Linked DNA regions of Homo sapiens: regions 2 and 3 are each linked to region 1. The links are contacts of gene promoters, found by promoter capture Hi-C in human tissues and cell types (Jung and others, 2019). All regions are on one chromosome and are shown on one strand. The core of a region is centred on a gene start or on the middle of the fragment in contact, and the rest is flanking DNA. Distances in the headings are between cores, read along the strand shown.

Evidence for each region. Contacts are between HindIII fragments. The study calls those that stand out against the background at their distance.
Region 2: a contact is called between a fragment that was not itself captured here and the fragment with the promoter of C9orf153 in region 1, in 1 of the 25 tissues and cell types used here (dorsolateral prefrontal cortex).
Region 3: a contact is called between a fragment that was not itself captured here and the fragment with the promoter of C9orf153 in region 1, in 1 of the 25 tissues and cell types used here (dorsolateral prefrontal cortex).

What each region holds. Positions count from the first base shown.
Region 1 is chr9:86,258,407-86,262,866 of GRCh38, reverse strand. C9orf153 (chromosome 9 open reading frame 153) reads left to right here and starts at 3,210. Exons shown (of 4, transcript NM_001276366.4): 1 at 3,210-3,317. It also overlaps the pseudogene RN7SKP264. The HindIII fragment of the contact is 6,872 bases long and covers 1-4,460 here.
Region 2 is chr9:84,871,790-84,876,249 of GRCh38, reverse strand. All of the region lies in intron 14 of NTRK2 (neurotrophic receptor tyrosine kinase 2), which reads right to left. Among named protein-coding and RNA genes, the nearest start is that of NTRK2, 200 kb to the right of the region's middle. The HindIII fragment of the contact is 6,869 bases long and covers 1-4,460 here.
Region 3 is chr9:84,917,302-84,921,761 of GRCh38, reverse strand. The region is part of intron 14 of NTRK2 (neurotrophic receptor tyrosine kinase 2); the gene reads right to left. Among named protein-coding and RNA genes, the nearest start is that of NTRK2, 250 kb to the right of the region's middle. The HindIII fragment of the contact is 4,235 bases long and covers 194-4,428 here.

The sequences.
Region 1 (4,460 bases), core at 1,961-4,460:
CGATTTGGTAGTGCCCCTGGGTGATGTGTAGGCCAGCAGATCTGTCGCTTAGCAGCAGACTTCAGGCTTTTCATGATCAGTTATAAGCCCACTCTTCCACATCAGGATGCTAAATTGAATGAATCAGGCCATGAGGACAGAGGCCTGCTGTGCTTCATTGTTGCAGGGCGCCTCCCAGCCCTCTGTCACCGGACCCACCAGAATGATTTTTTTTTTCTCAAACAGGAAAGGGTTGGGAACAATCCCTACAAGATCAGATGTCCCTAAGATTTCCAGTATTTCCTAGGTTTCACTCAGCAGGAAATACCTCAAAAAAAAAATGGCCTTTCTTGTCATGTTTTGATACCTGAGAAATCAGGAAATGGAAAAGCCTGTGCTAAGCTGAGCTGTAAGCAACATCAGTGTCTCATTTGAGCCTTAGAGCAGACGTGGCATGGGCCAGACACAGCATCGACCCAGAATAAACCCAAATACAGCTCACCTGAGCTCAGTGCAGGCTGGGAGGCTGGCCTGGAAAGGTGTAGGTTTGGGGTGAGATATGCCTGGATTTGAATCATGGTTCCTGTCATTTTGTAGCCATGTAACCTTCTGTAAAACAGTCTCAGAATTTGGGGGGATGTGATGAGCTAACTACACATAAATGGCATCCTGCTAAGGGTAGACGTTTCATACGTTGTAATTCTTGTCCCTTTTAGCCATTTTCTTGTGCAAAAAGGGATAATATGTTAATGGATTATCAATCAAAGCAAGAGCTTAGGGAAAGAGTTTCAACACATTTAGGGAGTTATTGTCCCATATTCAAATCTGGGGGAAATTTGCTGTATTTCCTTCAAATAAAAGACCACAGTAACTTCTTTGAAAAGAACCATAAATTTCAAATATAAACATTCGGAGAAATTTCATTCTCTTAGTAGCTGATTAACTATAGACAAACCTGCCTTAATTGAGGAGCTGTTTTGAAAGCTCATTCCCCAGTAGGAACTCAATCTCCTGGTCCCAGGTGGGTCTCATCAGACAAGAGATGGAGGAGAGAGGGAGGTGCACCCTAGCCTCAGCCTCTATTGAAATACAGAGCCATGTGGTGGTTACATCACTGTGGACTCCCATCCTCCCTTGCTGCTGTGCAGTGTTCAGGGAAGGCTTCATTTCACACCAACCTTTAGCGGGGCAAGGGCTCTGTACCAGCGGTACTCAGCTTAAAACTAGCCTACTTTGAGGGCCTTGATGGGTTACTGCTTTTACTTCCACTAGCTAGTGATTCCGAAACTTTTCATGATGAAGTGCCCATTTATTGGGCCAGGTGTGTTGGCTCAAGCCTGTAATCCCAGCACTTTGGGAGGCAAAAGTGGGCAGATCACCTGATCCCAGGAGTTCAAGACCAGCCTGGGCAACGTGGTAAAACGCCGTCTCTACAAAAAATACAAAAATTAGCTGGTCATGGTGGTACATGCCTGTAGTCCCCGTTGCTCAGGAGACCAAGGTGAGAGGATCACTTTAGCCCAGGAGGTAGAGGTTGCAGTGAGCCAAGATCGTACTACTGCACTCCAGCCTGGATGACAGAGCAAGACCCTGTCTCAAAAAAAAAAAGAATAAAAAATAAAGTACTCATTTTTTGTTCTCCATGGATTCTATGTCTTGAAGCAGTCCTCAAACTTTAAGGTGCAAATAAGTCACCTGGGGGTCTTGTTAAAAAGCAGATTCTTGGCCGGGCGCAGTAGGTAGCTCACGCCTGTAATCCAGCACTTTGGGAGGCTGAGGCGAGTGGATCACTTGAGGTCAGGAGTTCGAGACCAGCCTGGCCAACATGGTGAAACCCCATCTCTACTAAAAATACACAAAAATTAGCCAGACATAGTGGTGGGCGCCTCTAGTCCCAGCTACTCAGGAGGCTGAGGCAGGAGAATCACTTGAACCTGGGAGGTGGGGAGGTTGCAGTGACATGAGATGGCACCACTGCATTCCAGCCTGGGTGACAGAGCAAAACTGTCTCAAAAAAAAAAAAAAAGCAGATTCTGTAACAAAGGTCCAGGGCAGAGCCTGAGATTCTGCATTAGTAGCAAAGGCCCAAGTGAAGCCAGTGCTGTTGCTCTGCAGAACACCTTTGAATGGCAGGCTTTTGAAATATTTTCTCATTGGAAGAATCTTCTGTATTTATTAAATTCTGCTTAAAATTATTAACTTTCTTGTATATCCATGTTCATAACAGCATTATTCACAATAGCCAAAAGGTAGGAACAACCCAGGTGTCCATTGACAGGGGACAGGGGGTGAGAAATTTATTTCATGGACACAGATTCAGGTGGAAAAGATGAAAAAGCTCTGGAGATGGAAGGCAGTGCAGGTGGCACAACAATGTGAATGTACTGAATGCCACAGAACTGTGTACCTAAAACGGCTTAACACGGTAAGCTTCATGTTATGGATATGTTGCCACGGTGTTCACAAGTTATTAACTCAATCAGACTATTTAAATGCCCAGTAGATTGCATTCTGGGGAAATGGCTGTTTCAGGAAAATTTTCAGTGATTGCCACAGGGACCTCCCATGGGTGGGGAATGGAGTCTGGAGCACGGCTGCATGGCTCATGGAGAGAATTTGCACAGCCAGGTAGCCCCTGGTCCACTTCTACCCATATCTGGCCAGGTGCAAAGAGCATAGCTGTACCTTCTATTATCTCTCTCAATTTCTTATTTGCACTTTGCCCATGTCTATAGAAGGAAAAACTTGACTGATTAAAAATTACATTCACGGCACCTGTAGTCCCAGCTACTCAAGAGGCTGAGGCAGGAGAATGGCGTGAACCCGGGAGGCGGAGCTTGCAGTGAGCTGAGATCGTGCCACTGCACTCCAGCCTGGGCGACAGAGTGAGACTCCATCTCAAAAAAAAAAAAAAATTATACTCACGCCAGCCTGGGCAACATGGCGAAACCCCATCTCTAGAGAAAAATACATAAATTAGCCAGGCGTGGTGGCGTGCGCCCGGGGTCCCAGCCACAAGCTGAGGCAGAAAAAAAAGTAGCTACTCAGCTACTCAATGTTCACTCTTTAAAAATGCTTTTCCATCATCCTCCACCGTCTCCCACCCCCCACCAAGCAGCAAGATAATTCCCCATCGCTTAGCATCATATAGCTGCTTATGTGACCTTGAGAATGTCCACATGTCACAATGGACAGTCACTTAACACTAAGCAATGACACATGCTAGGAGTGGGGCTGGGCCTTGGGGCTGCTGGATGAATGAGACCCAGCCTCTGCCCTGGGAGTGCAGAGACTCAAGACAGATATGACCACGTGAAGAGACAACTGTAAAACAAGTGGTAAGTGCATCTACAGCCATAGCCACGGGGCACTGTGAGACCACAGAGCAGTGAAAACTAAGCCAGTCTAGGCTTGGCAAGGAGAGATGGAGTGAGGTGGGCAGTGGCTAAGGTGGGAAGACCAGAGCTGGGAGGTGAGATGGGATTTGGGTTTATCTTTACCAATAAGGATGAGGAGCCTGTTTCATCTTCCTCCAGGCAGGTCACAGAAGCTGGAACCAGTTGATCGGGCCGAGCCTGCAGACTCCCTCATCCTTTCCGGCCTTCAACACTGATAGCTCTGCTCTCTCTCCCCAACCTCAGTGCCTTCATCCTCCCCTGTGTTCCCATGGATGCTTGGTCCTGACTTTGCACCTCTCCCTCACACCCAGTGTCCTTTGTTTTTCCTCTGCCACTTGGGAGGCTGATGGGAGGATCACCTGAGCCTGGGAGGTTGAGGCTGCAGTGACCTGTGTTCACGCCACTGCACTCCAGCTGGGGTGACAGAATGAGAGCCTATCTCAAAGAAAAAAAAAAAACACTGCTCTGTATGATACTATCAAAGTGGATATATGTAATTGCACATTGTGAAATCTCATAGAATGCACAACACCAAGAATGGACCGTAATGTAAACTGTGAAGTATGGGCTTTAGTTAGTAACCATGCATTGATACCGGCTCATCAAGTATAACAAACGTACCACACAAACATAAGTAGTAAAAAAAAAAGGGGAAAGCTGTGTGTATGGTGCAGAGAAGGGGGGTTGTGGGAACATTGTACTTTCTAACCAATTCTAAAATTGCTCTAAAATTTAAGTATATTAATATTTTTAAAAAAAGTTTCGTTAAATTAGCAATATAATAGTTGCTTACCCAAGAAAATTCAGGTTTTCAAATATTGCGTTTTAAAAGCAATTATTTCCGGATGTGAGGGTGATCTGGCTGCAACATCTGTCACCCCACTGATGGCCAGGGTTAATTTGTCTGATCTGGCTGGCTAGGTGGATGTCTCCTTCCTCCCTCATCCGTCCACATGCGTCCTTCCAGACGCTGCGGACAACCTTCCCCAACAGAGGAGGGCCGTTCTTTGGGCAAGGGTATATGAGTAGCTGCACTCCCCTGCTAGAACCTCCAAACAAGCTCTCTAAAAGTAATTACTTCAA
Region 2 (4,460 bases), core at 621-3,120, 1.4 Mb after region 1:
TGCACACTATAGGGCTTTATCCTGTCCTCTCTATATCAACCACTTTATTGGAAATTTAGGAATATGGCACTCAGTCCAAATGCCATTATTATCTAATGAGGAGCTTGGGTTCCACTTTAATGCACCCAAAAGTTCAATGGCATGGTTAAAAAATGTGTTAATTAATAGTAACAGCATAAGAAAGAATATTGATCTCTACCCATATACAGTAATGAATAAAAATAATATATAGAAACTAGGATTATATTATTGTTTTCTTTCTGGGATTCCCCCCTGCCTTTGGTTCTGAAATCACACATATCTAATCTCTTACATCACAGGAACTTATTCATTTGAACTCATTTTTATAATCTCTTAAACTTAATATTACTGTGCAAAATATCAACACTAACATATTATTGGATGTCATACTATTGATAGAGGCCTCCTTGCCAGAACCCCAGTCTAGGTCTAGAGGCCTGAGACATCAGGAGAGGAAGGAAGGCTTTCATGATGAAAGATCCGGGGATCACTGGACAGCAAACTCCATCAAGTTTAAGCAAAGCTGGGAGTGACCAAAAGGAGACTCCAGCTATCAGAGGTCCTTGCACAGCCAAGGTATCCTTGATGGAAGTGAAGGCATCCCTAAACATCAGGAAATGTATGAGATGTAACTAGTTTGGCCCTTTAAGATCCAGCATACTCGGCTCTTTGAAAGGAGCTAGCTAGGGTGAAGAACTTGGAGGCAAAAAGTGATCATCTGCTTCAGTTGAGCAATAAACTGCATTTGGAGTTATCTGGAGTGATGACCCTAAATGAGAGCTCTCAGCCTGCCTTGTCAGAACAAGAGAGCCTCTCATTTCCTGAGTCTTTCCAGCGCATAACACAGGCCTCATGTGCTCTGTGATACTTACCATATGAGAGTCTGACGTGGCCAGCTATGGCCAGACCCCCGCTCTTAACCCCTGCACATCTCCAAGGAAATACAAAATACAAAACTGGGAATAATACACCCAATGTGCTTCCTACACACTGTGCAGCACAATCTCCCCAAAGTGAGCCATTACTATAGAAATATTAACAGAGTCCAGTACAAACAAATGCAAGGACACATATGGTCAGACTTTATATTACAAGAGATTAAAAGGATATCCACAAGACTAGAAAGCCATATATCCAAACGATATCAGTGGTTAACTCTAACTGGTGGAATTACATGGGACTTTTCGTTTCATCTTTGTTTCTTATGTTTTCCAGGTTTTCTACTAAATCTACATTATTTATTCTTATTTTAAAATACCCATTTTAGGGCACTTGAAGGCATTTTGGGTGAGGAAGACAATCCTATCTTACTAGCAAAAATCATTGGGCCTATACCAACTGGGATTGACCAACTCATTCCAGTCTGTTTAGGACTGTCCTGGTTTTAAAAATGAAAGTTTCACATAACAGGAACTGCCTCAGCATTCTCTCACTGACAGGAAGCAAACCCAAACAAAGGGCAGAATGGATTCATCTCCTCCTCGGGCTGCTCTCTCAGTCTCAGAGGGCAGTGGCTCTTGCTTCCAGTTAGGGGCTGAGTCCAAGGAGAGAGATTCCTTTATGTGGCAACCAGGTTGAACTAAGAAGTAGCTCTCTCCCCATTTCCTTCCTGGCCGTGGGTTAGAGAAAGTGTTTCTTCTCTTGCCATTCAAGAGAAAGAAGAACAATCAAGAAAAACTAAACAAAAACAAACAAAAACCCACTACAACCTCAGCAATCAACCTCAGAGCAGCATCACAGCTCCCCAGGAAGGAGACCTGGCATGACAATTAATCTGAGAAGAAGCCCAGCTACGGTGGTTACTCTCACAGGCTGGCAGAATTAGTAAAGACAGAGAAAAGCTGCATTTCCCAGGGAGAAAACCTTCACTTTGTTATAATAGCTGCCGTAAAGGATTGAGCCTCACATCCAAGAAAAACTCCGGTGGTGCCATCTCTACTTAACCAGAGGGAGCACTCAATTGTTCAAAGCACCTGGGTAGCAGGAGCTTCTTAGCAACATAGGAGGCTACTCTGCAACTGTGTTTGCTCAGCTGGTCCTGGTCCACAATCTACTAGCACATGCAAGAGTGGCCAATCCGAAACCAAAATGGGGGCGTAGCTTGATTGGATTCATCCTGTTGGTACACACACTCCAGTCAGGCTGGGCCTTGGGAAATACCCAGAACAAATACATTAGGATCCTCCATCTGCTGGGATGCTTCTAGAACATCACTGATGCTTTGGTGAAATTGGACTGAAATGTCTGATATGTGCAGGATGCAGAACTCCATCTTGGTTGGCCGATGATGAGGGAGTAAACACAGTCTTCAGAATATCACTCTGTCTCCCTGACCTAAATCCATAATCTTTATTTTTGTTTTTCTTTTCAGACACCAAGCTTAGGACTGGAGTGTTTCCTCTAGGAGGTCTAAGTATACTATACTTGGGTGATATTTCTCTTTTGATAACAAAGAATAATATTACCCAATGGTCAGATGCTAAAAACATGATTTTACTTCACTGTGAGTGTGCTTGAAACTGGTTTGCTAACAAATCTTCATCTCAGTGCGGCTTATAATAACATGGCTTACATTTTAAATGTAATTATGCAGCATGTATTCATTTCCTTTCTTTTAAGAAACTCAAGTTGCTTTTTTAAAGCATTATTTGATAGCTTCTTATCATCTCCTTTGGAGTTGAAAAGGGAATATGATATCAAATTGTTGTAGCTAGCAATGGGGGGGCCGTGGCACTGAGAGGGGGAAGGAATTGTATTGGGACCTGCAGAACAGCAGCAATGTGCCATGAAGGCTCCCACGAGATGAGTCGTCAACCCAGTGTGCCATAAAAGAAGCAATTTTTAAGGATCCTAAAATAAGTGCATTCTCTGTCCTAATGCTCGTGCTGGGCAGAATGGACTTAGCTTATTTTTAAAGTGCAGGCCATGGCCTTCCAAGGCATACAAACAACTCCCAAAGCAGCCATTATTTGGCCAATTAAACAATTAGGAGAAAATATATTTTTGAAAGACAAAACATTAATAGGCAAAGTACAGAAGGAAGCGCTAAAGCAATTGTTTCTACCCGTTTTTCAGTCCTACCTCTGACCATCAAAATGGACCATGGTCATTCGATTGCACTGAAGTCTGCAGATAATCTCTGGTAACTCTGAGGGGCCCCGCACTCTTTGATCTAATGAGCTTCTGGGGTCCTGGATGTAATTCAGAATTTTTGCTCATGTGTACTCAAAGTAATGTTGCAAATATGTTCAAAACCTCTGCGGTTCTGTGAAAAATATCACCTCCAGCCTTTCCCCTTATTGGTAAGACAAGGACGAAGTGGGCTGTGGCTGTTGAGGGGAGCAGAATGGGTGCCTTGTGTGATAGCTTTAGCTAATGTTAAAATACTCCCTCCCTTTATAATGTCTTCTTTCCTCAGGCCTAGCTGGCCTATGAATCTGTGCTTATTTACATAATTGCCTAGTAAGCATGTAACCACTAGGAAAACACATATGCACACACAAACACACATATACACAAGGATACACACACATTAACTATAATAGCTGGAGAAGTATGGCACACTCTGGAGAAAATTTTTAAAAATCCATTTCATTGGAAATGGAATTAAGTTGAAAAAAAAAAAGTCAGAATACTTTACATGCCTCTGCCACAGGGAGTTACTAGCCCTAGGCACATGAAGAGGGCATGCTCTGCAAGTACAAACACATCCAGGTACATATTTAGAGACAATTTTAAGTTGATTTAGGCCTCAACCCTAGGACCCTAGCTAATTTACAAGGCTGCTCTAGGGAAGACAGAATTTTAGGGAGGACATCTATAGTGTTTGCTCCGACGGGAGAAGATAAAACACACTCCTGCCCTTCAAGAGAACCCAAGATTGATGATTTGGGGATTTTGCTGGTTAGTATGTTTTGTTTCTGTTTGTTTGTTTCAGCTCAGAAGGTGTGTTTCCATTGTTCCCTGTCAAAAAGTTTCTCAGCAGTCAAGGAAAGGAAAGCAACACAGCTGCCCTTGAGCTGAGTTTGTAAATTTTACTGGGAAACCACCCCGTGCTGTCAGGTGATGTGGTGTTCAGACACGTCTAAACGAGCTAGTTGAGTTAAAGACCAACTCCAGACTTGATGTTGCTGAGCTCCTCAGCTCCATCTTGCCATCCTGATTGATCGAGGAGATGGGTCTATAGTTAAAGTGGCATAGTACTTTGAGGGGTTAGTCATTAGAGCACACTGCTTTGTCTTGGAAAGGCAACTTCTTGCTTGGCTAGGTTATGGAAGCTAAGGAGTGACGTCAAGATGTTGTCTGGCCAGAATTTGCAGATAACCATAGAACTCTTCTCCTCCATCAGGCATGGATTTAGCCTCCTTTAGTTCCTGCAGTGACACAGGAGCCTCCAAATACCAAATTATTATCAGGCGGTCTTGGGGGAACCTCTGGGC
Region 3 (4,460 bases), core at 1,062-3,561, 1.3 Mb after region 1:
ATTTAGCTTGCACTATCTCTTATCTCCTCCCAAGAATTGGGAGTTGCATTATTTTTCATTCTTCTATTAACTATCTTTCATCCTTATATCTTTATTCCAGCCATATCCTGACACTACTTTCCTGAATAGCTCTTATAAGAATATAAGAACAGTGCAGGCAGGAAAGACAAAGGCTGTATAAAATCAGTGGAATATTACTATAGCCTGTCCCCAGAAGTCAAATAACCCTTTCTCTGCAGCCACCAGATGTATTTTTTTTGTCCCCTGCCTCTTTACACCCTCCATATCAATGAGTTGCAAAATCTCTGGTGTGAACTCATGTCAAGAATCACTGGTGTTAAAAGTAGTTTATGAGCTGAGGGCAGATTTATAAAGTGAGAGTCACAGTGCTTGGGTTCCTCTCCTCTGTCTTGAGATAAGGACTTGTTTTGTATGCTTCTGTCAGCTGGAAGACTGCCACACTTTGCAGTCCATGCTACAAACTCAGCTTTTGAGGATAGTAATAAGAACTGTACAACAAAGTCACATTTACCTAATCATACTGCTTCAGAAAAAAGAGAATTACTCCACCCATTGGGCTTTGGGGTCCTTTGGGGTCCTGGTGAAGATACTGCAGAGGGTCAGACTAATCTGGCTGCTGTTATGGCTCCCACATTTTGTCATGAAGTCCCTTCTCCTGGGAGAGCTTCAGTGATGCTATTATGCAGGGAACTACTTACTCTGGGTGATAAAAAATTCTGTTCTTATATGTTAGTATGAACCATTTACATCTGGGATTGGCATGGTCTAAAGTATTAAAATGGCATCAAATATTCCGAGTAGATTATATTGGAAAAATTCACTCAAGAATAAGCCAATGTTAAATTATACTGGAATTTATGCTGAAGTTGAGGAAGTAATCTGCTGATGACACTGTCCCTGTGGGGATGGCTGAAAGATTCTAATGCTTCCAGCAGCACCTCCTTAGAAAGGTATTGAAGAAATCCCTTTAGATTGGTGAGGTGAGGGCATCAGTTGGCCTCTTACCCATAACGGTGAAGTGAAGGGCAATGTAAGTCCTAATGGATGAGATTTTTCAACGGATTTCTGGAAGGGAGATGGGGGCATGGCTTCCATGTTAATGCATGAAACATAGAGTAGAAGAATTCTCACCTCAGAACATGCTGTAGTGGAGTCAGCAGTAGAGGCAGGACTGCCCCATTTGGTGGAGGCTAGAATAGCTCCAGGCTTGGGGCCAGCAGGTGCAACAGACGGAAGGAGTGGGAAAGAGCTTAAGCACAAAGGAGGGACAACTGGATGAGTGGTGTGCACTGCCACATCCAGTCTGGAAGCATACCAGATAGCCTGTTATTTATCCTTAGGCCAAAAAGAGACAGGTCTCAGTCTCGCCCGCGTGGACAAGGCTCTAGGGAAAGCCTGACCTGTCAAGAGAATTAAACCATCTGCAAAGAAAGTGAGGACCTAACATTGAACTCAGGTCTCTTCTCTGATCTAGGGTCCCCCAACCTAAGACTACTTCAGTCAACCAACAGTATTTGTAAAGAGAAAAAAAATGTCCCTCCACCTTATGAATGTGAATGTAATTATAATGAAATGAACAGGAGTGAGATCCTTGCTAGCCAATATAAAGCCACCCTTGCTGTACAAGAACCAATGAGACAAAGTAGGAAAAGTGAAAACCACAGAGGAAAGCGTCCTAGAGGCAGGGGTCTGGTGGTGATAAAGTGGAGACTGAAAATGACCACAATTTTCAGGCAAGGAATAAGAGGCAGAATGGAAGCTTCAGTTCAATTGTGGCCATCAACTAACTACGTGACTTACAGAAATTCACTTACTGTATTTGTTCCCTTTGATTTCCTTTTTCTAGGTGCAAAGTGGGAATAAAAATACCTGATCCTCACAACCTCATGAGGCACTGGAGAGAACAGAATGGTAATCCTAATAAAAAGCACTCTGAACAATGAAATGTACAATAAATGTTATATGGTGCGGCCACTGCTATTTAGCAATTTGGCCCTCAAGATTACACAATGGCTCACAGATATATTTTCCTGGTTCAACTTAAGTTAAATATTACAGACAAACTACAATAATAATGGGGCCTTCTGTTCTCGCAGCACTTGAAGGCTCATAAAGTACTCTCACATGCAATTTTATTTGAGCATTAAAATGACTCGGTGAAATGGGCTGTGAAAATATCTTGAGTTCCATTTTACAGCTAAGGGAACAGAGGCTTAAAGAGGTCAAGGGCCCATTCAAGGCTACATGACTTGTCAGTTAAAGAGCCAGGCCTTAAACTTGGCCTTTCAATTCCAAGTTCAATATTCTGTACACAAGAGGAGCATACTAGGCATTCTGGAGACTAAGAATCAAGAAAGCAAAAAGTTCATCCTGGAGATGAAGCTTTGTAGATAAGACACTAATATCACTGCAAGAAACTAGACTAAAAACAGTGCCAAGCATTTGCCTACTAGAGTGATAGGAACTCAAGAAAGAAGCTGATGTGGATGGTAACTATCGGAAAGGCTTTATAGACACAAAAGGGTCTAAGGTGAGATGTGAAAAATGTATTTATCTGAATGGGCAGAGAGGCAAAGTAGGGATCTTAAAAAAAGGCAAATAGCAAGGCACCGAGGCAGGGTGGTAGGACTAGGATTCCTCTGCTCAATCAGGGGTATGACGCAAGGTGGTGGCATGTAAGTTTCAATGTATGTGTAGATAGGGGACCAGACCATAGAGAGCTTGAAGGTTAGATGAAGGGGTCTAGATTTGATTGTATAAGCAGATGGGAGCTATTGCAGGTTCCTTAATGAGGGAATGGCATTATCTAAATAGCATATCATCTGGTAGCAATATGCATGGTGTATTAAATGAAAGTGCCCAGAAGCAGAGAAACAAGCTAGAAGGTTGTTGCATTAATAAAAGCATTATCATGAAGTTCTAGATTATAGTGGTAGTGATGAAAATAAAAGGGAAGCTATAAATTCTAACAGCCAAGTGATTTTATAATCGGAACGAAAGAATTATTCACTCGGCTACCATACGCAACATGACTCTCAGGAACATAAATAGCTTTCTCAATCATATTTTCCCTTAACCATGCTGCCAAATTAAGTGATCACAGAGTTGCCAAAGCAAAGAGTTTGTTAAAAAACATATAAATTTGTCATAAAAGATCCCTTATTTCATCCATTGGTCTTCTATCCCAGGCTTTTCAGAAGTAAAAAGATTACACTCATGCATAAACACTGTGTGGATCCCCTTCAGACCTCCCCAGTGCAAATAACCATGGAGTCATGGTATGTGAATCCCTGCATCTAATGTCAGAAGGTGTGGTCATGTGTCACCTTTCACTGGACCCATGTCAGGCAAGGACATGCAGGTGAAGACAGGTGCAGAAGCAGATGCAAAGAAGCCCCCATTGTGGAGCAAAGGACAGGGGCAAAGGAGGCAGAAAAGAGGTAGGAAGACATCAATGCATATGACAATGTGTATGATGGCCAGCCAGTTCCTAATACCTGATTGCTTGGCGCTGTTGGAGTCTTGGTTCCTGATACTGCCTTTCCAGCACCTGTTATGTGAAGCCCTGCTCCAAAGCAAAAGAATGAATGAATGAAAACTGTGCCTTTCTGTTGCTTGACAAGTGGGTTCACAGACGTGATTGTATTTGAACATAGCTACAGCCTCCACTTTTGTAAGTCAATTGTAATAAAGACTTACTTCCCCTTTAAATTTCAATTGCAGTGCTGTGCTTTCCATTCTCTCTTGATTTCGGTGTGTGGGCACACCCAGACACCTCACAGGCTGCACTGACAGCTGCTTGCCAGTCAATGAAGTCACATTACTCTGTCATGAGGATGTGTGAAATAAGCTGCCTCCCAGGAGGTGGGCAGAGGCATTCAGGACGCAATCAATGCAAACAGGATTTTTCTCTCTCTGGCGCCTGACTGTTTTGTTGGCTCATTGAGCAGAGGAGTGAACAAGCTTCACTGGGTGCAGAACTGTATTTAGGAAAAACCCTTTCTTTTTATTGTCATTATATGTGATAATAACTGCATGAGATTGTCACTCTTAGATTTACTCTGCTTGGACAAAGTAGGCTGCCTGCTCTTGGAAAAATCCAACAGAACTGACCTCTTTTTACCACGGAAATGTCAACAGCAATTATACAACCAGTACTCCCTAGGCAAGAACACTTGAGTCAGAGCTCCTCCAAGGGCTGTGAGGGCTGTGGACAAACTCGATCACTGTCATGATATCTTCAGCACCTCAAAGCATCTCCCTTACAACTGAACATTACAATGCTCCATGCCATGCAGCTGTCATTGCAACCAAGAAGCTGCCCGGCCCAGTGCTCCTTCCACTGCACACGTGCTTATGGGCTGTCATCCCACCAGAATGATCTCCATCCCAGACTCCAGAAACCCAGAAACGATCATCAAAACCAAGTACCTGAGAAC